3 separate regions of the Homo sapiens genome follow, and all the other regions are linked to region 1. The links are contacts of gene promoters, found by promoter capture Hi-C in human tissues and cell types (Jung and others, 2019). All regions are on one chromosome and are shown on one strand. Each heading gives the region's core, a stretch centred on a gene start or on the middle of the fragment in contact. The rest is flanking DNA. Distances are from core to core; before and after follow the strand shown.

Region 1 (4,425 bases), core at 643-3,142:
CCAGGCGCCCAGAACCGGTCACGCGTCTGTGCTGCCCGCTCCAGGATGCACAATAGAGTCATTGACTATTTATTTACTGGGTAGAACAAGGCTGCTGTTGACTTAATTAAGGGAGCCGCCCAGCCACCCCTGGGATCTTCAAATGACTAATGGACTCTCCATTGCCACTAACTCATCTCTCCTTAACATAAGTCCCCAGTCCCCCTCCCCCCAACCCTGCCCCACCCAGGAATGCTCAGTAAGCATGTTGTGGGGAACGGGGCGCAGAGAGTCCTGGATGGTGACCAAGAGGGAAAGACTGGCGGTTTTGGCAGGACTGAATTTCTGTGTTTCAGAGCTATTCTGAGCCAGGCGCTAGCCTCAGGGTGTGGAACATGGCCCTGCTGCGCCAGGGTCCGGCGAGGGCTTAACTTTACTAGGGCTGCAGTGAAGGAGGAAGCAAAAGGGCAAGTTCTGGTCTCCAGCTCAGACAACGGGTCCCTGGGGACTCAGAGCCTCTCTAATTCCCGGACCTCGGAATTAGATAGATAGTGGAGAACCACCAGGGACTGGAACTGCTAGGGGACTGCAGAGCCGTGGAATCCCCCCTGGCCCCTTCTTTATGCAGCCCGTTTGAAATGGTCTCTTGAGCCCAGTGCGCCTGGCCTGTTCCCGCTTAGCCTCACTTAAATCTCCTCGCGAATCTGAGCTGGCCAACTTCCTCTGGGGGAAACTGCTAAACTCAGCTCCAGTTAATATTGTAGGGCTGAGGATAAAATAGCAACGGTTTTGAATAGATGTTGACTTTTCCGACCCAGAGGAGCGGAACTCAGGGATTGTTTGCAAAAGCTAATCGTTTCCACAGTGAAGCAGGGAGAGCCTGGTGCGCTCACCGCCGCCAGCCCCTCCCTGGAAGCCAAGCTGCGGGAAGACTCTGGGACTCAGTTGCCCCTCCCCATCTCTGGCCTTTAAAAGAGTCCTCCCGAGAACTTGGACCAGTGGCCGCCAAACCAGGGCTGCTTCCCAGACTCCTGTCTCCAATCTTGGAGTCTGCGACCTCAGGTTCGGCGCCCACTAGATCTCGAATCCAACTTCTTTCTGAAATGTGTTTAGGTTGAGAGTTCCGGGGCCTGGGCGGGAGTTTGGTGGGGAGAGGGGAGTCTGCTATTTAAGGCGCCATACATACACAGAGACAGCCCGCCCGACCTCCTAACACTCAGGAAAAGTCAATTTCCAAGCATCTGTTCTCAATAATGGTGGCAGGGAGCAGGGCACTGTGACTCCCAGCATCTGAGGGAATACCCGCAGCAGCGCTACCAGAGCGCATTTGCTCTATGCGCTGGAGGTCGGGGTGGGAGGGTGCGCAGATCAAGATCTTTTTTTGCGAACCTCAGGGAAATGACCGTAGTTGGACTAAGAGGTCCACTTTGGAGACTACCAGCAGCCCTCCAAGCCCTGGCAGTGGAGAAGTTTCGTTGCTATGGTTTCGGAGAGGCATAAAAGCCATCACCCAGAAGCAAATGTGTTTGGGCTCCTTATATGTGTTGTCACCACCCAAGGCTAGGCAAATTCCTCGGCGCTTTGCATGCATCACTCACTCCCTGACAGAGCATCTTGGCCTTAGTCTCCCCATCCCAGGAGGCGGGTGTGCGCTAAGGGAGCGAAGTCCAGCCGGAGGCTTCGTAACATCCAAGTCTAGGGACACCAGGAATTCTCTCGCTCTAGCTCCTGTGGTCCAGGGGTGGGAGATGCCCCCGAGTGGCCGCGGCGGCCAGGAGCGTGCAGGGGCCACGGGGAAAGGAGCGCGGCGCCTTTAAAGCAAGAGGCGAGGAACCCCCGCCAGGAGGCGTGTCTGTCTCTGCCGCCGCCGCCGCCGCTGCTGCTCCTCGGTCACCGTCTTCGCCGCTGCCGTCACTCGCGCTCGGCGCCGGCGGCTGCGCTGGTCGGTCTGGTAGCTGGGGACTTTTCCGCCCGACCTCCTCCGGCTGCTCCTCCCCGAGGACCACCCCACCCCCTCCCCGCCCACCTCACCCCTAGCTCCAGGTAAGGACTCCCCGGCTGTGGGCTGCACTCCGGGCTCCTTCACGAGGTGTTTGTTTTCAAGAGGACGGGAGGGACTGCGGGTGGGCGAGGGGCATTTTCCACCTGGAGAGAAGGAAGAAGGCGAACAGTAGCGCTGCGGACGTCCGTGCGCTCGGGGCGCCCGCTGGACGGATTCACTGCGAGTCTTTGTCGGGCTTATCTCAGCCAATTCCCGTCAAGCATGCAAGTGGCTCTGTTGGCTGCAGTCGCCTATGTTCTCCACATAAAATGATTTAAGAAGTGGACGTGTCAGGAAGTGGCCTCAGCTACGGGGACTCACGCGAGGCGAAGAGAATGAGACAGATGGCAAGAAGCTGTGTGGCTGCCGGCGGGTCTGACGAACTCCCCATCCCTCCTTCTGCCCACCCATCCTTCCATTAACCCTACTCCTTAGTTCTGCGCTGAGGAAGTATATTTATTTTAACCGGCACCCGTATTAAGAGCTTCTGAAAAAACTTGGAGGGCGTCCCATTAGGGTAAGGAGTGGGCAGTGTTACCAGGGTGGATCATAAACCTCAAGAACTTTTAACGAACCACATCCTCTGATATTTTTACCTTTAAGGAGATAGAGTTTCTTTACCAAACAACACGACCGAGCTGAGGCTCCTTAGAGAATAATTTCCAATTTAGGCAATGGGGAATATTAGAAAACTTACTATTAGTAGCCTTTTGGTAATGCACAGATTATCTTCTATCGTTTATTCATCTCCATACTGTAAGTATTCTGTCATCAGAAATTATCTTATGGATTGATGATTATTTTCATTTCACGAGAGATGATTGGTTCATTTGAGTCTTAATTAGTCAGTTTAGTTACTGAAATAAATGCAATTGTATTTCAATCTTGATTTGTCTTAGTTCATTACTTTCTAACTTTATAGAGTCTATTCCTGTAACCACCAAGGCAGCCTATCAACTTCCAGTGGCCTTAAAAACTTTTGAGTCAAACAAACAACAAAAAATTGAAATGCACAAGAGCAAGGTGATAGAGAATTGAGCAATGTTTGGAAGTCTTATCTGTTTGTTTTCTCCTATTTAAACCCATTGAAAATCACACAGGCTGAAATTTAAAAAAAAAAGTTCTGGGATATGTAAATTTATTCCACTTCAATTTGTTAATTAAGATACACTTATTTTAGTGTCTAAAAATTAATCAAAACTCTAAATGTCATTAATCATCAATGCAGCAGAATGTTGCTGGAACAGCTGATAATGTGTTCAGAATCATAAGGGATACCACAGCATGCATAGTTAAGAAGAGTGAGTTGCAAGTATGCAACAGTGTGATTTCAACTGAAACCTGACTCAGTCCTGACTTTATTCTCTGAGATCTTTAATGCCATGTATAAACAGGCTGTTTGTTTTAGCTAAATTGCTATGCAACAGGCCACTTGCATGGAATAATAGGTTAGGTGTTACTATAAGATGAGGTTTTTCAAATGTCACATAACAGCAGGACTTCCGTGACAAGTCAAGTGGAATCCTTAGTAAGAATTCCATGTGAAAAATTTAAATATAGCTATGGCATGTAAGAACCTTTGAAACATCTTTGAAATTCAGGTTGTTCTGGGGTATGTATTTGCTGTTTCCAGCAAAAGGTATAGGCATTGTCTTTTTAAATGTTGTGCTATAAAGATTATTACACATTTTCTCATACCCCAGCAGGTGGCAGCTAACTAGAATAAGATTCATTTTCACTGGCAGAATAGGAAACTAAAATTGTTTCTCAAGTAATAGTGCCCAAGAATAAGAGGTCATTAGTATCTGCAAATATAAAAATATAGTGAAAGATGAAGCTAGTGGGTTTTTTTGTTATTGTTGGAAGAAGCTTTGCATTAACATGATATGCATTTTCTTCTTTGTCAATTTATCATAGGTTTGATATTTGTGTCAGCCTTCTATGATTTTTTTGAGGTATACTTCTAAATACAGCTTCTCTCTGGGTGTGCGTGTATGTGTGTTTTTGCAGTTTGTTATCTCTGCTTTGACCTTGGAATCTACAGAGCTTTGGCTCATAGAAATAAAGAGTGCCATATGGTTAAAATGAGGAAAAAAATGAGACCATAGAATAAAATATATAAATCTTACTAAGTATATATAATTGCCTGATATCCAATAGCAGTAGTTTTCTCTTTCCTTTAAGGAAGAAGCAAATTACAGAACTGACACAATTTTTAAAAGGGTTAAATCTAGTCAGTGAAATACTGTGTAAGGAATTTATTAATCCTTCATATAACCTCAGAACTATGATGTGTGGTATCAGTATTGGGGAGAAACTTGTAATAACTTCAAAATTGCCACATGTTAAGGCATCAACTATGCCACCAAATCATTTTATTGTAGTATAGGGATGTAAATTTAGCA
Region 2 (4,425 bases), core at 613-3,112, 220 kb after region 1:
CTTAGGAAGGCACTGAGGATGCTAGACCTGTTTCACGGTCTTGCTAAAGCAGAATTCAATAAGCTCAGTGAAGCAGGTTCTTTGGACTAAGAATTAATCTACCTTGCAGGACTGAAACATAAAGAAGAAAAACAAATCTTAGACTCAGTAATTGGGACAACTTAAATATTATTATATTCAGACTTAAAATATAAATTTTATTTGATGGGAAATAGATTAAAGACAGAAAACGTGAGTCAAATAAACTTTTTGATGACTTTTTATTAATGTTTGTAAAATACACAGTGCCTGATGTAGCGTATGATGTCAATAAATGTTGACTGTTAGGAACTTTCATTCTTCAATGAGATTGAGCTTAGGTGTAAACATGTTTCATACTTATTTAAATTTCTTTAGCTTCAAATTGCAGGAGTTTGCATTATGTTTGAAAGGGGTCTGGAACATTGAGCACATAAAGCAAAGACACAATTAGTTCAGTGCAGTTAGGACCAGTGAGGAATGTTTTCCCAGAAAAGGTGACTATTTCAAAAGCTCACAATGAGAGATAAATTTACAGATGTATGTGTTAATGTGTGTGTGTGTGTGTGTGTGTGTGTGTGTGTGTGTAGGTACATAGGTCAGTAAGAAGAAGCTGGGCTCCTGGGCAGATGAGCCCTGTTTGGAAAGCAATGGAGGCATTTGATTTTGGTTCAATCAGGTAAAGGTAAGTGGTTTAATATGGCTGTATGACTGGGGAAGTGGGAGTGGTAAGAAAAGAGGTTGGAAAGGAAGGTAGAAGACAAATTATGAAAAACTTTGTAAATAGCATTAAGCTTAAAGATTAGTCATTGAAAGATTTTAGGAAGTTGAATAATAAGATCAATGTTTCACGTTATAAAAATGACTTTGATTGTAGTAGCTATAAACTACTGAAAAAAGCTAGAATAGGTGCAAGTATCCATGAAAAATCCAGTGGAGATGCATTGTTGTGGTGTGGAAGACATAGAACTTCTGGACTTAGTCAAGCATATGAAAAGGTTTACAGTGACATTCCTGTAGAAATGATGGGAATCTATAAACTGTTAGCTAGAATAATTAAGAAGACCATTACCTAGTTTAACAATAGGGACAGACTCCAGTGGGGTATCTATGAGGTTATGGTCTAAAGCTTTGCTTGGTCTTTAACTCTTTCTGGCTTATGATTTTTATCACTGACTTAGATATAAAAGCAAAACTGAATATGACCTAAAGGCAGAAGGTAAAGAAACACATTTCACATACCTTTGTAATATTAGTAAATTACCTTGATACATTAGATGTTGAATAAGTTAATAATAACAGTTGATGATAGAATTAGGCCCCAAGTGGTTTTAATTAGAAAATTAGACCAACTGTAAGTAAAAGATATTAATCAGGGATACTTGTAAAAAAATTTTAAAAAAGTACATCACAAACATAAACTTTTTAAACAATAAGCTTAAGATGAATGAGCAGTGTGATACTGTACTGTTAAAAAAATCCAGTATTTTATCTATAATACATTAACTTATGGAGCTGGCCACTCTCTCATAATTTGCTTTGCTTGGATACACTTGGAGTATAACATTGAACTGTGGACACACTAGGCTGTGTTCAGAAAAAAAAAAAAAACTAGAAAAACGAAAGGATCAGATTAGTCATGTGACAAACAGTTAAACAATTTCAAAGTGTTAGGCTAGATGAAAGAAACGCAGTAGGAAGATGAAATGTTTTCAAATTCTGGAAGATAATCATGTTTAAGTTGGGATTAAATGTATCTCAATAAAAAGATATGATTAAAAACTTTAGGAAAACAGGGGATGGATTAATATATGGGAGAACTTTGTGCTGGAGCTCTCCAGAGAGGTGAGGGACTGCTTCAGATGATAAGTTTGTCATTCCTGGAGGCCAATGTGTAGTAATAAAGGCAATCTATGTATCTGAATGATGAGTAGACCAGATGATTTACAGATTGTATGATTCTTAGACTCCATCTTTTACACTCAGGATAATAGTGCAATTTTAGTGCATAGTACATGTAAATATTTGCAGGTTAATTTAATGGTCATTTTGAGAAGTCTGTTAAAAATATGCATTAAGAACAAAATGAGTATTGGGGTTTTATTTCTTCTTGTCCATTTTCTTTTCCCCCCAAACTTTTATTTTGAATTTTTAAACATACAGAAAAGTTCAAACAATTGTATAAATAAACACTCATAAGCACTTTGATTAAACAATTGCTTATATTTTTCCAGTTTTTTGTTTATGATACTTCTTTCATACCTAAAGACTTGATCTCCTAAGAGTCAGGATATTTTCTTATATAACCACTATATCATTATTTTGCCTAAGGAGAAAAAAATGATACCCTAATGTCATTTAATATCCATGGCATGTCATTTAATAGCCAAAGGCCAATGTAACATTGTCCTTTGGCATTATATTGTATAAAAATTAAAGAAGCTTGATGATTTTGTCCTTTGGATAATGATTTGTACAAAATTAAAATGCAGAGGAACCTTTTGCAATTGTTTAGACAGGAAATAAGATTGGTATAACATTTGATGGAGAAAATCAACATATCTTCTGGGAGGATAACAGATGGTGTGCCATTTAGAACATCAGTTTCTTTATTAAATTAAAGTCTACAAAACACAGATTGTACTCACTTTAAGGTAAGACCTATTTGAAAAGTCTCAGAGGTTAGATGTGACGTTGGTTGGTACATCCATCATGGGTTTATGAGTCATACAGTCCTCAGTAGTAGTTACAATTGATTTAAAAGAGAAAGGCATTGACTAGGCTTTAGCAGTTGACTAATCTTTTATTTCAAGTCTTAAGTAGTGAAGTTCTTTTGTGAGTCAGAGACTGTGATGTGAAAAGTTTCAGCACTGAGTGTTCTGTGTAAACCAGGGATCACTTGACATTTGGTTTCCTATATCTACAAAACAAAGGAGGGCAATTGTGCCCATGAAAAAGAAAGGTATTCTCCTCTCCTTCTTTTTTTCTTCTTTTAACAAGCCTTTTGTAGTGAAGAGAACTGTTAACTTTTAATATAAGCTTGGAAAAAGAATTGCGGGCATTTTATGGTTTGATATAGAGGTTATGTGAGATATGATGGCCCTTCCTGAATTAAGAAATAAAACAATGATAAAGCTGTGAGAATGATTTTCTTAGATGATGTTTTGAACCTAAAAAGTTCAAGGTAAGTATGAGAAAGCAGTACATTTTGCTTGTGTTGTATGGAGAATAAGGAATTAGATGATAACTACACAGGAGTCTCCAGATTCTTGAAAATGTGAAACTGGTTGAATTTTGGTGTAAGTCTAGAAAGAGCACAAAATTATTGATTACTAAGATGCTTCTTTAAGATCATATAGGTCTTATGAGTCCTTTATTATTCTGAGATATATTTTATCCATCAAACATGATTTATGAACTCTCAGGAGAGCAATTATCTCTTCATGGATCACATGCTTATGAAATACTATGTACAATCCTGACATTATAATAAAAAGAATAATTCTAGGAGAAAACAGTTTTATAGAAGATTCCCAGTACAAAATGGATATTATTTTTTCAAGTCATAGGAAAGAAAAACATCTTGTTTAAAATCATGTGAACAATTATCCTTTTGCAGGCTCATGAACAGGTGGAAAAAATGCTTTGCCATTCAATTTTATAATAGCAATTTAAAAATCAAAGATGTTCTTTTAAAATTATAAAAACCAGCTGAGATCTTCCTCAGAGAATCAAATATAGAGAGCCTTATATTTCACTTTACAAAGAAAATACATGAAGTATATATGCCCCTGATTTCCTGCCCATCTTCACATCTGCAGATTACAGATAATTGCTTCTTGCTGGAGTGAATAAGGTGTCCTCCTCCCCTAGGCTTAGCCTATTTGCCATGCTTTGGATTTGATCCTCTCTTTTTCCTGAGACACCTGGCTCCATCACTAATGCCTTCTCTTTTCTACCTTTTAGCTTTCTCTTCCTATTGGTTCTTTCCCTCTGCATATAAATATGTTAAGTCTTTCTCATTATAAATGAAGCAAAGACACAAACACCCTGAGATTTTATCTTCACCTTTCACTGTCCTGTTTTCTGCTACTCTTTAATATTCTAGCTTCATTTTGAAGAATATTCATTTTTTTAAATAACAAGATTAACATATTTCCATTGTTAGCTATTTAAATTATACAAATAAATAAAAAATCAGAAAGTCAAAATTAATCAAATGCCTATCATCTAAAATGAACCAAGGTTAATATATTGTTATGCATAAGGGCATATTATAACTACTTCTGAAGCATTTTGTCATGAAATACCTTCTATAGAATAATTTTAAAATGGCTAAATATATAGTATTTTATTAAGTATATCTACCATAGTTTCTGTAAAAAGTCTTTTACCATTGTATACTTA
Region 3 (4,425 bases), core at 640-3,139, 200 kb after region 1:
ATGACCCCTTCACAGTTGTCACAAGTAGGGGTGATGGATCTGTGTCCTTATATCCTGACATCCTGGCATTGATCAGTTATTAGATGTGAGTTACCTAGAAAGGAGGTATGCTTTGGTAAAAAACTTCAGCTGAGGCAATTCCTGGGAAGACCAGCTGACAACATTTCCATCAGCTGAAGGAATGTATCCTTCAGTGTTGAAAGCGATTCTGGAAGTCATGGGATAGAATTACTAATATCACATATATATATATATATATATATATATATATATATATTGCTTTTTCACAGACAAGCACTACGTCTATCATCTCTCTTTAGCAGGAAGGACTGGGCTTTGCAGAATTGTTCAGCAATAAATTTCTAGGATTGAATTGAAGCAAAATTATATTCATGACTTTGGGGGGTTTGGGTGTGGGAAGAAGTGGAAGATTAAAACACTTAATTTTTAATGGCCACTGATGTCTCATTGAGAGATGAGAAAATGACAACTGTATAAAGGAAATGAAAATATAAGTAACAGCTTGATGCAACAGCAGAACAGATGCTGTAAGGAATTACATCACATGATTAATTGTCAAATGAGCCACATTAATTATTTGCTGGAACAAATAAAAACAAATTACCAGATTAATGATATAGGCAATTGTTGCTGCAGGAGTTTAGCTGGAGTGGAGAGTTAGAAAAACTGAACAGTTGGAGATAAGGCTGAGATATTTCCAAATAAGGAATTTAGATTGCTTCTGGCATCCTATGGGTGTTTGAAGGTGTTTGATACAATGATTGTGATCTAAGTAAGAACTTGGTTTGGTGTTGGCATAATAGATTTAGAATAGGAAGTAACTGGGGGCAGTAGATCACTGATAGATAATTTCCAGTCTGGATATAAAGTGATGGAGGTGATGATGGGAATAGAAGCAACTTCCTTCATAAAGATTTCCCTAACTCTCTGCTCTAAGTTGATTTCTCCCAAAGCTTCACTATTTGTTTCATATATTCTGATCTTTAATAATTTGCTGTCGTGTAATGAGCATCATAATAATAATAATTAAGATTTCTGTAGTTATTTATATTTTACAGAGTGCTTTCACTGTTCCTCTGACTCTTTCAAACATACCATGAGCTAGGCAGGACAGGAATTTCATCTCCATTTTTAGATGTGAAAACTAAAGCCCAGCTGCTTAATGCTATTATTCCTCTCTCACAATATTATAAACTTCTTCAAGCTACAGAGTGTATTTCTATTTTTACAGAGCCTAAAATAGAAAGGCAGTCAACAGATTTTAGTAGGATGTGTGGGAGCTCATATTTGAGGCAATACAAACTCATAAAATTAGGTGTTATAGATTACGCTGCCAAAAGATGACTCCAAGTAATATTAAAGTTGACTTTTTCATTTTTTACTTCCCAATGAGCAAAGTTTAGTTTTTGAACAGATGACAGCTTCATATGTTACTTTAGGTATAATATCACATCTGGGGGATATTTCTTTTTTCTCATGCTATTGGAAAATTTTACAGAATTTTCAGATAGATTGCGCTATAAGTATTTCTCTAAAATGAATATGCCTCCCCATGAAAAATGTACATATATCCAGGGATGCTTACATCACATGAAAAAATCTTGTAAGAAATAAAAGCATATGTAAAAAACAAAAAATGTATTATGAAATGTCAGGTGTTGGGATAAAACATTAACCTAAATTCACAATTCCTGATAATCCACAAGTAATAAGTGAGTTTATTAATTAAATGAGTTATTACTTTTCTTAAGATACCTTGAAAAGGAAAACATTCCATGCCAATTTAGTAATGTAATAGAGGTAGCACTAAAATGTTATACCAAGCACTGGAACAGGCTTGAGTGTGCCGGCTTTATCAGTAATTTATTTTCTCAACATAGGAAAGTCAATGGGGTTGGAATAGATGATCTCCGAATTTTCTTTCAGAGAGTAAATACATCTATTCCGTTGTTATTTAGTATTTAACATGTAACTGATGCTCAAGACACAATAATGAATAAAAAAGACATTTTCATATCCTCCTGGAGTTATATTTGATGGATGTATTATATCACAACTTGGAGTAGAAAGTGCTTGTGCCACACAAAAAGCATAGTTTTTCAAAGAAAGCACAACCATAAAATGGGTTTAAGGCAAGGAAATATATAGCATATGTTTGAGAAAAAGTTGTATTTTACTTGAATACTAGTGGAATTTTTAGTCTCAGAAACAAAATGAGTATAGAGTTTCAATAAAGATATAAGAAAATCCCTTACCAAAAAGACCTTAATGAAGAACAAAACAAAATTGGTGACAAGTTGGCTCTTGGTAGCTTCTAAGTAAAATTCAGTGGAGTAGCAAGGCAAAGCCAGGTTGAAGGCATTTATAGTGTAAGTGGATGGTAACAAAGTGGAGGCAGTGACATATGAGTTATGTTTAAAGAAATATTTGTAGTTTAAAAGCATGGATGAAGGCAGATAGGGCGGTGAATTACAGGGAATCAGAATTGGTGAGACATCTTTTTGTGTTTTTTTCTCTTTTTTTTCTTATGTTGTTTTATACTTTAAGGGAGAATAAAGAAAAATTTTAGACAAATAAGCATGTGGGCAAGATAGCAAAGTCTGGAAGATCTTATATCAGGGCAAATGTTGGTGGCTAAGCTTTGGAATATACAAATGAATAAAAGAGGGAGGTTAAGGTACCGAGAAACCTCAAGTAGGCATTCATAGACTTTTCAATAACTTTTAAAATTCTAAAAAGTTTAGAATAGCCACTTTTGACAATGTGATGATCAGTCAAAAACATGAAAACCAAAAGGAATAAAAAGGAAGAAGGCAAGAAATGGAAGGAGAAAGGGAGGAAAACAGGGAGAGAAGAAAGGTGGGAGAGACAGACAGAAGGAGGGGAGTGATGTACAGATCAGTTAGCAAACTGTCTGTGAAGGACCAGGTAGTTACAGACTTTCAGTATTTGGGGGTATATGGTTTGTTGCAACTGTTCTACTCTGCTTTGTAAAAGCACAAAAGTAGTCTTAGACAATATATAAGGCAATGAGTGTGGTTGTGTTTCAATACATCTTTATTTATAAAAACAGATAGCTGGTCAAGTTTGGCCTAAGGGCCATAGATTGCTGACATTCCAGCCAGATGATGCCAGATTCTATGTAGTTCAAAACAAGCCATATTAGCATGGTCCTATGACTTTCTTGAATGTAAGAATAGGGATTTTATATGTGTATATATATACACACACACAGGTACAAACACACACATGTGTATGCATACACACACAGACATATATATAAACACATATTTATATACACATAAATATATTTGTGCATGTATATATATATGTGTGTGTGTGTGTGTGTGTATATATATATATATATATATATTCATACACATATAAATGCTAGAAGTCATCTGGAGTCTCCAACTCCTTGAATCTGCTTAAGATCAGTCTGTCACAGACCCAGTTTTTATGGGCCTTATATTTTCTTGGTCACCTATGGTTCTGACTTTCTTCTATACCAGTGTTTTCTTCCTATGTGTTTTATACCCTTTTATTTACCTCTGCCCCGGTGTTCAGCTAAATATAATTCATTAAAATTTTTTTTTTTTTTTGCTTTTTTAAATTTCAGCTGCAAATCCATGAAGGCAAGCATGTTGTGAGGAAAATTTCTTTTACTAACAGAGTGAGGGTCTCCAGGAGTTCTAGCCTCATGAATCACAGAGCAAACAACTTCAAATTTTAAACTGATTTCAGGCATTCATATTTTCACAAGGCCTTTGGGTTATCATGCCACCAAGACATTATCAGTGGTCAACTGACCCTTGCAGAATTGTTTTTAAACTAATCCTTTTTTTTTTTCTTGCTGTGTCCTTTTTTTTTTTTCCTCTCAGGCAAAATAAATGAATGAATGGTGTCACGCAGGATTCAGCTAATTTTTTCATTATTTATATCTTTGCTAACAACCATCACCTAGAAATTTACCTTTTTACCTGAGAGGCTTAACTTCTAAGAAGTATCAGTTGTTTTTTCTTTTTTAACTAGGGTCTAGCATTCTAGGTCATCTAATTTGTGTTATCCTGTGAGATCACAACAACTCTGTATTGTATGGTTGGTATTATCTTCTACATTTTAATAGATGATAGGAAGAATCAAGAGATAGTCAAAATGGGAAGCATAAACTCTTTCTTAAAGGGTGAGTGAATGAAATTTATAATTTGGTGTCTATGGGAAGTGGGCTTGATGATACTCTAGATTTAGATTAGAGTTAATTAGTAGCACCTCATTTACTTTTGACTACTTTCTCAGAAAAGTAATCATAAAAACCCTTAAATAGAGGCAATGTTTTAACTGCATGGAGAAAGAAATGGAAGCAGCAATTAAAGCTCTTCTAGAACCCAGGAGTACTTTTCTTCA

What was found. Contacts are between HindIII fragments. The study calls those that stand out against the background at their distance.
Region 2: a contact is called between a fragment that was not itself captured here and the fragment with the promoter of GRIK2 in region 1, in 2 of the 25 tissues and cell types used here (H1 embryonic stem cells and mesendoderm cells).
Region 3: a fragment that was not itself captured here is called in contact with the fragment with the promoter of GRIK2 in region 1 in 2 of the 25 tissues and cell types used here (H1 embryonic stem cells and IMR-90 fibroblasts).

What each region holds. Positions count from the first base shown.
Region 1 is chr6:101,391,816-101,396,240 of GRCh38, forward strand. It overlaps GRIK2 (glutamate ionotropic receptor kainate type subunit 2), which reads left to right and starts at 1,893. Exons shown (of 17, transcript NM_021956.5): 1 at 1,893-2,022. The HindIII fragment of the contact is 9,322 bases long and covers 1,549-4,425 here.
Region 2 is chr6:101,612,148-101,616,572 of GRCh38, forward strand. All of the region lies in intron 2 of GRIK2 (glutamate ionotropic receptor kainate type subunit 2), which reads left to right. Among named protein-coding and RNA genes, the nearest start is that of GRIK2, 220 kb to the left of the region's middle. RefSeq lists an enhancer at 2,434-3,297. The HindIII fragment of the contact is 3,887 bases long and covers 1-3,806 here.
Region 3 is chr6:101,592,348-101,596,772 of GRCh38, forward strand. The region is part of intron 2 of GRIK2 (glutamate ionotropic receptor kainate type subunit 2); the gene reads left to right. Among named protein-coding and RNA genes, the nearest start is that of GRIK2, 200 kb to the left of the region's middle. The HindIII fragment of the contact is 5,016 bases long and covers 1-4,397 here.